Linked DNA regions of Homo sapiens: region 2 is linked to region 1. The links are contacts of gene promoters, found by promoter capture Hi-C in blood cells and fetal thymus (Javierre and others, 2016). All regions are on one chromosome and are shown on one strand. Each heading gives the region's core, a stretch centred on a gene start or on the middle of the fragment in contact. The rest is flanking DNA. Distances are from core to core; before and after follow the strand shown.

Region 1 (4,768 bases), core at 659-3,158:
AACAACAGGAGCAGCTCATGGGCTGAAAGTGGGAGGTCAAGATGAAAATTAGGTGAAGATGTAGGTAGACACAGAAGTAAGATCAGGAATGATTTGTTATTAAAGGAATGTGTGAGTACTCACTGTATCAGGTACTGTTCGTATATTACCCTCAATCTTCATAGCCATCTTGGTTTCATTTTACTTGAACACGAAAGCTACAAAGTGTACTATTCACACAACAGAGAAAGCTATACAGTGGGTTCAAATCTCCTCTGCCATGGAAAAGAGAATAAGGGGACCAGCTGTTCAGCTCTGGCCCTCCTTGCTGGGTCCCATTTGAGCTTCTCTCCAGTTCTGGCTGGTTGGGATGTCTCCTTCTTCAAAAGCATCTTGTTAGTTGGTTATTTTTAGCAACATTTAACAACTGAAGAAATGTAAGGTAAAGGAAGCTTAGAAGACTTGCCAGAGGTTATACACTGGAGTGAACTGCAAACACTAGGTGTTCTGCTTGTGGGTCAGAGGTTCAAGGGTGAAGAATTGCCAGGGCAGAGGCTGGAGATGGGAGCTAAGAAATGTTCTACACTTTGCATCCTTTGTCACTGAGAATGATGACAGAGGTGGTGCTGGCTCCTACTGCTGCTCTGAAAGGCTGGGTTAAGAGGAAAGCGGAGGTGGGAGCAGCAGTTCTGCTTTTCATGACAACCAGGGAATAGGGGAGGTGGGAGCCAACAAGGGACCTACATGAACACCCAGTCTGTGTCTTCGTCTATATTACTCACTGTTTACTCCCAGGCTCTCACACCTTATCAGAGGGGAAAAGTAAACCTCCCACAAAACACCATTTGGTTCAACTACAGATGTATTTTGGATATCTTCAATCAACGCTTGATCCTGAAAAAATGCTTTCAAAGAATCTTCAACCAATGGCATACAAGGACCTACTCGGAAATCACAAAAGCCAAATAATGTCAAGCAAGTGTGTAAGAAGACAGCCCTGTATGGCAATACTAAAGAAAATTTTGCATTCTAACTACAAGGGGAAGGAAGAGTCAGCAGGGGTGTAACAAATGACACATGATAGTCACCCCAGAGGATAGCATAAATTGTACACAGTACAAATAGTACAGAAAGTATAATTTGCTTTAGTAATTCAGTTTTTCATTTGGTTTTCAAGACCTGTCAGGGATCAAGAAATTAATATAGACATATACTAATTTTGCATATATAAATTATTTGCAAAACCATTTGTGAAAAAGTTTCACAAATCATTCAATCTAGATTTAACAACTGTTATAAAACTATCCTGAAGCACCTGAAAACCAGTTGGACCAGGGTCAGAAAATCCAAAAAATTCATCAGGTCTTATCCAGAATTACTCTATCTAGTAGCAGTATTAATCCACCCCTCTATTTAGAGTTACACAGGCATATTTCAAGATAAATTATAAGAAAGGAAAGACTGGGTGACCCTCAAATCACTAATTTCAATCCAAAATTATTAAAATAGGGTATTTTAAACTCTATTTTGATGTTAAAGAGCGAAACGTCAACAAAACAGGTTTGGCAAAGGACTATTTATCAAACACAGTCACACAACGATTATGAAACCACATGATAAGATAGCACACAAAGAAAACATTGGCTATTTAACTACTCAGGAGGAAAAACTAGGTGTTCCTAGTTTTTCCTAGGTGGAAGGGGGAAGCAGGCTAAAAAGCAGTTTTTAGGGTTTCAGATATGTAATTGTGGCAGCAGGCACAGCATCAGGGTAAATCTTCCTTTTGACTTCCTCAGAACACCAGTTGAGATTTATGTAAGGTGGTATAATTTAGTTTAGAGAAAACTGAGATTGCATCAGTTTGGCCTCACCCTTGGCCTGACATTTTATCCTTCTCTCCAGAGATCTTGCTTGGACTGCCCTTAAGTACGCTGCTCCAGAGAACTCTGCTCTACATTGTCAGAAACCAGCTTTCAAGTAAGTTCTGTTGCTAGTTCCACATGGTAATTCCACAGTTAAGTCAGAAGGCATTTGAAAAGATGTATAACTTTGGATGGCTCTTTTCTGATTATAGGCTGAAGGGGGTTCTTTTCTCTTTGGTTTGCCTTTTGCTTTTAATAGCTTGACCATTTCTGGCTTCCACTGCATTGTAAGAGCTAAACTACAGGTTTGTCAGTCAGTGTTTCTCTCTCTGTCTCTTTCTCTCTCTCCCTGCTCCTACCCCCTCTTCTCTCCATTCTCCTCTCTCCATCTCTCTCATTTCCTAGTTACAAATCATGTTGTCTTACTGTCTTAAGAGCATCACTGATTTCATCCTTGTGCCACTGTCCCTATGCTCCCAAGATCACATTTCAGCATTTTAGGATACGTTTTTTGTTTCATTTTTAGAATACTTTTCAGAAGAGGTCATGATAAGCAAGACAATTTTACATTTCTGAGTTGAAAAAACTGTGCTGCTCTTCCAGAACAGTTTTGGTTTGTATTCTCAGTTTCAGGGGCTCCCCTGACTCTACATTTTAGGAACAAGAAGAGGTTAACATTGAGCAGGTTGTTCATGAACCGGCAGTTACCTTTACTACAGGAATCACTTTGGATTCAGGCTGAGAAGGCACTATAGCTCTTAAAATCACTATGTAGGGCAAGTGAAGAAGAAAGAAAAGAAAGAAGAAGAAAGTAAGGAGGAGGAGGAAGGAGGAGGTGGGAGAAAGAAGGAAGGGGGAGAAGCGGGAAGGGGGAGGAGGAAGAAGAGGAGGAAGAGGAGCAGGAAGAGGAGCAGGAAGAAAGGGAGGAGGTGAGGAAGGGAGACGGGGAGGAAGGGGAGGAGAAGCATGACCACCATTTTGACCTAAACTCATATCTTATCCACAAATAAATTCAAAATGGATCACAGACTTAAATATAAAACATAATGCTATAAAATTTTCAGAAAAGAAAAACAGGAGAGAATCTTCAGAACATACAGCTAGGCAAAGAGATCTTAGAATTCAGACCAAAAGCACAATTCATAAAAGGAGAAACTGATAAATTGAACCACATCAAAATTAAAACCTTTTGCTCTGCAACTCTGTTAACTGGATGAAAAGACAAACTACAGTCCGGGAGAAAATATTTGCAAATCACATATCCAACAAAAGACTAGAATGTGTACAATTCAACAGTAAAAACCTAAACAATTCAATTAGAAAATGGGCAAAAGATAGGAAAGGAGATGCCACTAAAGAAGATACACTATGGCTAATAATAAGCACATGAAAATGTTAAACTTCACTAACCATTAAGGAAATACAAATTAAAACCATAATGAGATATCACTACATACTTATCAGAATAGCTAAGATAAAAATAAAAAATATTGACACCACCAAATGACAATGCAGACAAACTGGATTACTCAGACTTTGCTGATGGGAATGTCAAATGTTACAACCATTCCAGAAAAGAGTATTGCACTTTTTTATAAAACTAAAAATACACTTATCTTTTGACCCAGCAATTGCACTCTCAGACAATTATCTCAGGGAAATGAAAACTCATGCTCATACAAAAACTTGTACATAAATGATTGTAGCATCTAGCATCTTTGTTCATAAATAGCCCAAACTGGAAACAACCTAAATGCCCTTCAATGGGTAAATGACTAAAAAGCTGTGATTCATCCATACTATGGAATGCTACTGTGCAATAAAAAGGAACAAACTATCGATACATGCAACAGCTTTGAGGGATGTCAAGGGAGTAATGCTGAAGGGAAGAAAAAGCTAAATGCCAAAGGTTACATACTATATGATTCCATTCACCTAGTATTCTTGAAATGACAAATTATAGTGGTTGTCAGAGGAGGCAGGCAGATGGAAGGAGTGAGTAGGGATACAAAAAGGTAGCATGTGGGATCCTTTTAATGCAACTGTTCTGTATCTTGACTGATGGTGACCACAGAAATCTACATGTGATATAACTGCATGGAACTAAATACACACAAACACACATACAATGAATGCTCTGAATAAGGCTGGTGGATTGTATCAATATGAATTTCCTAGTTGTGATACTGTACTATGGATAAAGAATACAGGGTATCTATTACTCCTTACAACTAACTACATGTGAATCTAAAATTATCTCAAAATAAAAACTTTGGAGATCTTATTTATTCTAAATATCCTATCTTTCTGGTGCCTCATCCATTAGATGCCTGATGTCTTCCTTCCCTAATCTGGTTACTCTCTGTAGTCATAATAGCAGAAAATATTTTACTACAATTGGTAGTTTAACTTGTGCTTCCCCAAAACCTTATTCATGATTTACTATTCCTAACTGGAGCATGCCTTTTGGAGATGGCCTTATGTTTAATACTGACTCTTATGCTGCATGAAATGGACAAAATATTTTCTGAGTCTTAGTTGCATCACTGGTAAAATGGAGATAAATTAACCGATGTCATAGATTTATTTTGAAGGCAATTAAAATAATAAGTAAAACACTCAGTACATAGTAGGTCCTTAAATTGTTTCTGTCCTTTTCCCATTATCAACCTAAAATCTAGCTTAATTACTAGATAAAAACATCAACAACAAACTTTGGTTTTGGCTCCAAGGCTCATGTTTAGAAAATAATAAATGCATCTCTAATGAGCACAGCCTGGGGACTGGGGATGGAATGAGGCTAAATTCAGTTCTTAACATGTATTTCAATTTAGGAGAAACATAATGTTTTTAAGCCTATGTTCTCTGAGTCTGAAAACATTCTGGCTTATCAAAATGTTTTACAAATGTTTAGCATATAATTCATT
Region 2 (4,768 bases), core at 1,191-3,690, 61 kb before region 1:
AAACTGTTTTTTTTTTCTTTTAAAAAAAGCAAAGGCATATGTATGAACCCATAAAACTTACTCATGAAATGTCTTTAGAAACTAACCTAAATGGGCTGGGTGTGGTGGCTCACGCCTGTAATCCCAGCACTTTGGGAGGCCGGGGTGGGCAGATCACCTGAGGTCAGGAGTTCGGGACCTGCCTGACTAATATGGTGAAACCCTGTCTCCAGTAAAAATACAAAAATTAGCTGGGCATAGTGGCCGGTGCCTGTAATCCCAGCTACTTAGGAGGCTGAGGCAGGAGAATCGCTTGAAACTAGGAGGCGGAGGTTGCAGTAAGCGAAGATCGTGCCATTGCACTACAGCAGTCTGGGTGACGGAGAAAGACTCTGTCTCACACACACAAACAACAACAACAAAATAAACACTAACCTAGTAACCTAAATGAAAAAATTCATATTAGACTCATGACTCAATTTGTTTTTTTTTTTTAAAAAAAGGAGGAATACAAATAAACTATCCATGTCACTGGAAATTTAACTTCATACTTTTACACAAGGCATGCATTTTTGCCTTTTTTTTTTTTTTTTTTTTGAGATAGGGTTTCACTCTGTCACCCAGGCTAGAGTGCAGTGGTACGATCATGGCTCACCACAGCCTCAACCTCCCAGGCTCAAGTGATCCTCCCACCACAGCCTCCTGAGTAGGTGGGACTACAGGTTTGAGCCACCATGTCTGGCTAATTTTTAAAATATTTCGTAGAGACAGAATCTCACTATATTGCCCAGGCTGGTCTCAAACTCCTGGGCTCAGGCAATCCTTCTGCCTCGGCCTCCCAGAGTGCTGGGACTACAGGCTGAGCCACTGTGTCTGGCCATTTTTGCCTTTGAAACCTTAAATGTGAATAAGTTTCCCTTGGAGAGGATGCATTCTCCAATTACCTAATCTCAACCATCTAGGGAGAATTTCAGATGTAATCTTGTGAAAAATAACATGTTGAATTCTACAACTTAAAAGAAGTCTCTTTAATAAAAATGAACTTCAGTGCATAATATACATACAGGCAATTTATCATATTCTGCATCTGATGATGAAGGAGAGACAGTAGCACCAGGACTGGATGATGATAGCCTTAAGGTACTGGAAGGAGAGTTGGCATCTGGCACAAAAAGGACCTGAGAATGGGAGAGAACAGATGGGTGAGTACCAGCAACCAGGCAAACCACTAGTGAGTGTTTGGAGAAGTTATTCTCTACACAGTATCATGTTCAGTGCATGATTACGACCTAGGTTGCTTTCAAGAAACTCATAAGCAACTTACGGTTTTCTAGACTAATCCATGAAATGATACTCAGCATATGAATGTGTGTAGTACAAAGGGTACAGAACATGCCTGTAGACACTGCAAGAACTCAAAAAGAAAGGGAGAGCAAGGCCAGGCACAGTGGCTCATGCCTGTAATCCCAGCACTTTGGGAGACCAAGGTGGGCAGATCACCTGAGGTCAAGAGTTTGAGACCAGCCTGGCCAACATGGTGAAACCTTGTCTTTACTAAAAATACAAAAAAATTTAGCTGGGCATGGTGGCTCGCACCTGTAGTCCCAGATACTCGGGGAGGCTGAGGCAGGAGAATCTCTTGAACCCAGGAGGCAGAGGTTGCAGTGAGCCAAGATCGTGCCACTGCACTCCAGCCTGGGTGACAGAGGGAGACTCCACCTCAAAAAATAAAATAAAATAAAATAAAATATAAATAAATAAATAAATAAAAAGAAAAGAGAGAGCAAGGTGGGTAAGTATTCTGGGCAGGCCAAGTGAAGCAAGTGGGTCCAACTGAAGCCTTGAAGAACAAGTAGAAATTGGATAGGAGAGAGGGAAGAGCCCTCCAAGGTGGGAGACTAATAGTATAAGGGAAATGAGGAGAGAGAAGCATGGCTTCTAAACTTAATATCTGTGCCAGGTAGAAATGGAACAAACCCAGCTTGCTAACTCCAAGCAGGCTCTGAGTTCTAAAGCAGTAGGTCCTTATATGATAAATTGTATAAGGTAATATCAATAAAATAATCCCAATATTTTCTCTTCCAACAGTGTCTGGGTTATGTGTAACTAAAAACTACCCCCACCCCAAAAAATTATACAGAATAGCAACCTCTGCAAAACATTCTGGTTCTCAAAACATTACTACAATCCTGTCATTCAATATTCTTTTAATGAGACATGCTACATTGTGGCATGTATCAAATATAATCTTTTGTCTTTTTCTGAGATGGAGTTTCACTCTTGTCACCCAGGCTGGAGTGCAGTGGCATAATCTCAGCTCACTGCAACCTCCACCTCCCACATTCAAGAGATTCTCCTGCCTCAGCCTCCCAAGTAGCTGGGATTATAGGAACCCACCACCAAGCCTGGCTACTGGCTAATTTTTGTATTTTTAGTAGAGATGGGGTTTCACCATGTTGGTCAGGCTGTCCTTGAAGTCCTGACCTCAAGTGATCTGCCTACCTTGGCCTCCAAAGTGCTGGAATTACAAGGATGAGCCACTGTGCCCGGCCAAATATAATCTTAAAATGATGACCTTTAATGTTATAAAACAGAATTCAGAGCTAATCATATAACAACTGATTACTGATCAATATTGTTATTCACTGTCTCCTATCTTTCCAGTCATTTAAACCTCACTTCAATCCAGAAAATATTTGAGACAACAATAAAAAAACACATTAAAATAAAAGTGGGAAAATCAAAGTCAAGGGGGGATATAAGATGAGGACTGATAACTACTAAAAATATATGCACCAAAACTGGTAACCACTCATTAAGAAGTGGGCCATAAAAGTGACTCTGAGTTTCCATATAATTAATGCAAAGAGACAACATCATTAGTTAGCAGAATTCAACTTCCATGAGATAAAAATGAAGTTTCTCAGAAGTACAAGTACTCTCCTACAGAATCTCATACAAAGGAGCATCCTAGACTGAATTATTTGTCCTCTATGATGCACTAACAGTAAATACAATAACCAGTTTTGGAGTATTGCCTTTTATAGCATCTTCAATATGGGTCAATGGAAATGCCAAAGTTTAGAGTTCTGTAAAAAGCAATTTACAAAGGACTAAAATTTTGTGATCTTGGTATATAGCTCTTATTTATCTTATATAGCTAAACTAGAGTAATGGATGGATGATGTTTTTCCCAAGCAATTCTCCACTAATAGTAAATTTTTTTTGCATCTGAACTCTTAAAAAAAGTATTAGGTAACATAGATTGCGATTCAATTGTCTGAACATTCCAAATGTCAAATCTAAGGAGTAATTCCTGTGCTTAAACAGTTGACTGCACTGTAAAGAGAGGTGAGCAGCCGCCAGAACATGTGCTACCTCAACATGGAAGTGAGCCTGGATCATGGGCAGGGGTGAAAGTTTCCTATTGCCTTCAGAAAATAATTTTGGGTTTGCTCCCAACACATATGCCAATCAGGATTTGAGGTCTTAAAGTTCTTAACCATACAGCAATGCTGTCATTTCAGCCTGGAAAAAAATTTTAAGCATGTGTAGCCAAGGTATCCTGTGAATATGAAAATATCGTAAAGTTGAGCTGGGTGCAGTGGCTCATGTCTGTAATCCCAGCTACTTGGGAGGCTGAGGTGGGAGGATTGCTTGAGCCCAGGGGATTGAGGCTGCAGTGAGCCATGATGGTGTCACTGCACTCCAGCCTGGGCAACAGAGCAAGACCCTGTCTCAAAAAATAAATAAATAAAAATAAAGGAGAGAAAATATTGAACCAAAGCACATTATCATTTATCATAATCCTGTGACAAACAATAGTGAGGCACTGAAAACGGCAATAAAAGATAAATGCAGAATTTCTAGAGTTATATCCAGTAAGAGTATAATTACCTGGCCTGGAACAATAGTATGTGTGAAAAGTTTATTCAGTTCCACCAATTTATTGGGAGTGATGTTAAATTTCAGTGCTATGGAGTTTAGGGTGTCCTGGTTTCCAGCCTAGAATAATCAAACAGGTAAGAGTCAATAAATAAAGCAAAAAAAATTACTTTTGATAGATACTATTAATTTATCTGCAATATGAATAAATAACAAACTAATAGTTCCATCAAGATAGACTATAAGAAAGAATGAATACATTGTCAATTCTTAATAAAATCATTTTACAGCAAAGTCTTAAATGCAATTCATTTCTGGGCTTCCTCATTTTCAAATTTCACTGTCCCCTAATAGATTTCTAATTTTACTTTGGTGCAACTGAGGCGCATGAAGTAAAGGTCCGTGAGCTGTAATGAAGACTACAACAAGAAAAGAAATACGATGTACACAGAGTCCCCACCCTCAGGGGAAGTGGGGCTACTTTCTCTCTTATAATTTTCTGTCTATTTGCATGACTTTTCCATATACTATAAACTGCTGGCTTGTATGGCAAAGCTGGCAAAATGTTTTCTCCTGGGCTCAGCACACTGCTTGATACATGGAGGGTACTCAAAAAGTTGATGAATGAATACTGTGAAAGCAAGGAAATCAGAAAGAAATTCAGATTAGCTACCAATAATTGTTCACTATCATTAAAACCACACTTTTCTATGGTCAAATTAGTGTTATTCTCTAAATCTGTAAAACTTGTGACATATGTCCCAGGTGTACACTTTTCTTTCCTTCTGAGGAGGAACAGGAATAGAGGGCAGTGAGGAGATGAGAAACTTCACAGGAAAACAGCTCTACCCAGAAAAAAAGTTGGCTCCCTGATGTCATGTCAACATCCCAGGACAAACTCCCT

The links. Contacts are between HindIII fragments. The CHiCAGO score rates a contact against its expected background, and 5 or more counts as called.
Region 2: a fragment that was not itself captured here is called in contact with the fragment with the promoter of NCOA7-AS1 in region 1 in 2 of 17 cell types (activated CD4 T cells and non-activated CD4 T cells); the score reaches 5.5 in activated CD4 T cells.

What each region holds. Positions count from the first base shown.
Region 1 is chr6:125,815,998-125,820,765 of GRCh38, reverse strand. NCOA7-AS1 (NCOA7 antisense RNA 1) reads left to right here and starts at 1,908. Exons shown (of 3, transcript NR_126386.1): 1 at 1,908-1,956. The region is part of intron 2 of NCOA7 (nuclear receptor coactivator 7); the gene reads right to left. RefSeq lists an enhancer at 2,182-2,683. The HindIII fragment of the contact is 4,548 bases long and covers 434-4,768 here.
Region 2 is chr6:125,877,479-125,882,246 of GRCh38, reverse strand. It overlaps NCOA7 (nuclear receptor coactivator 7), which reads right to left. Exons shown (of 16, transcript NM_181782.5): 5 at 3,877-3,984; 6 at 1,044-1,157. Among named protein-coding and RNA genes, the nearest start is that of NCOA7-AS1, 61 kb to the right of the region's middle. The HindIII fragment of the contact is 9,442 bases long and covers 1-4,768 here.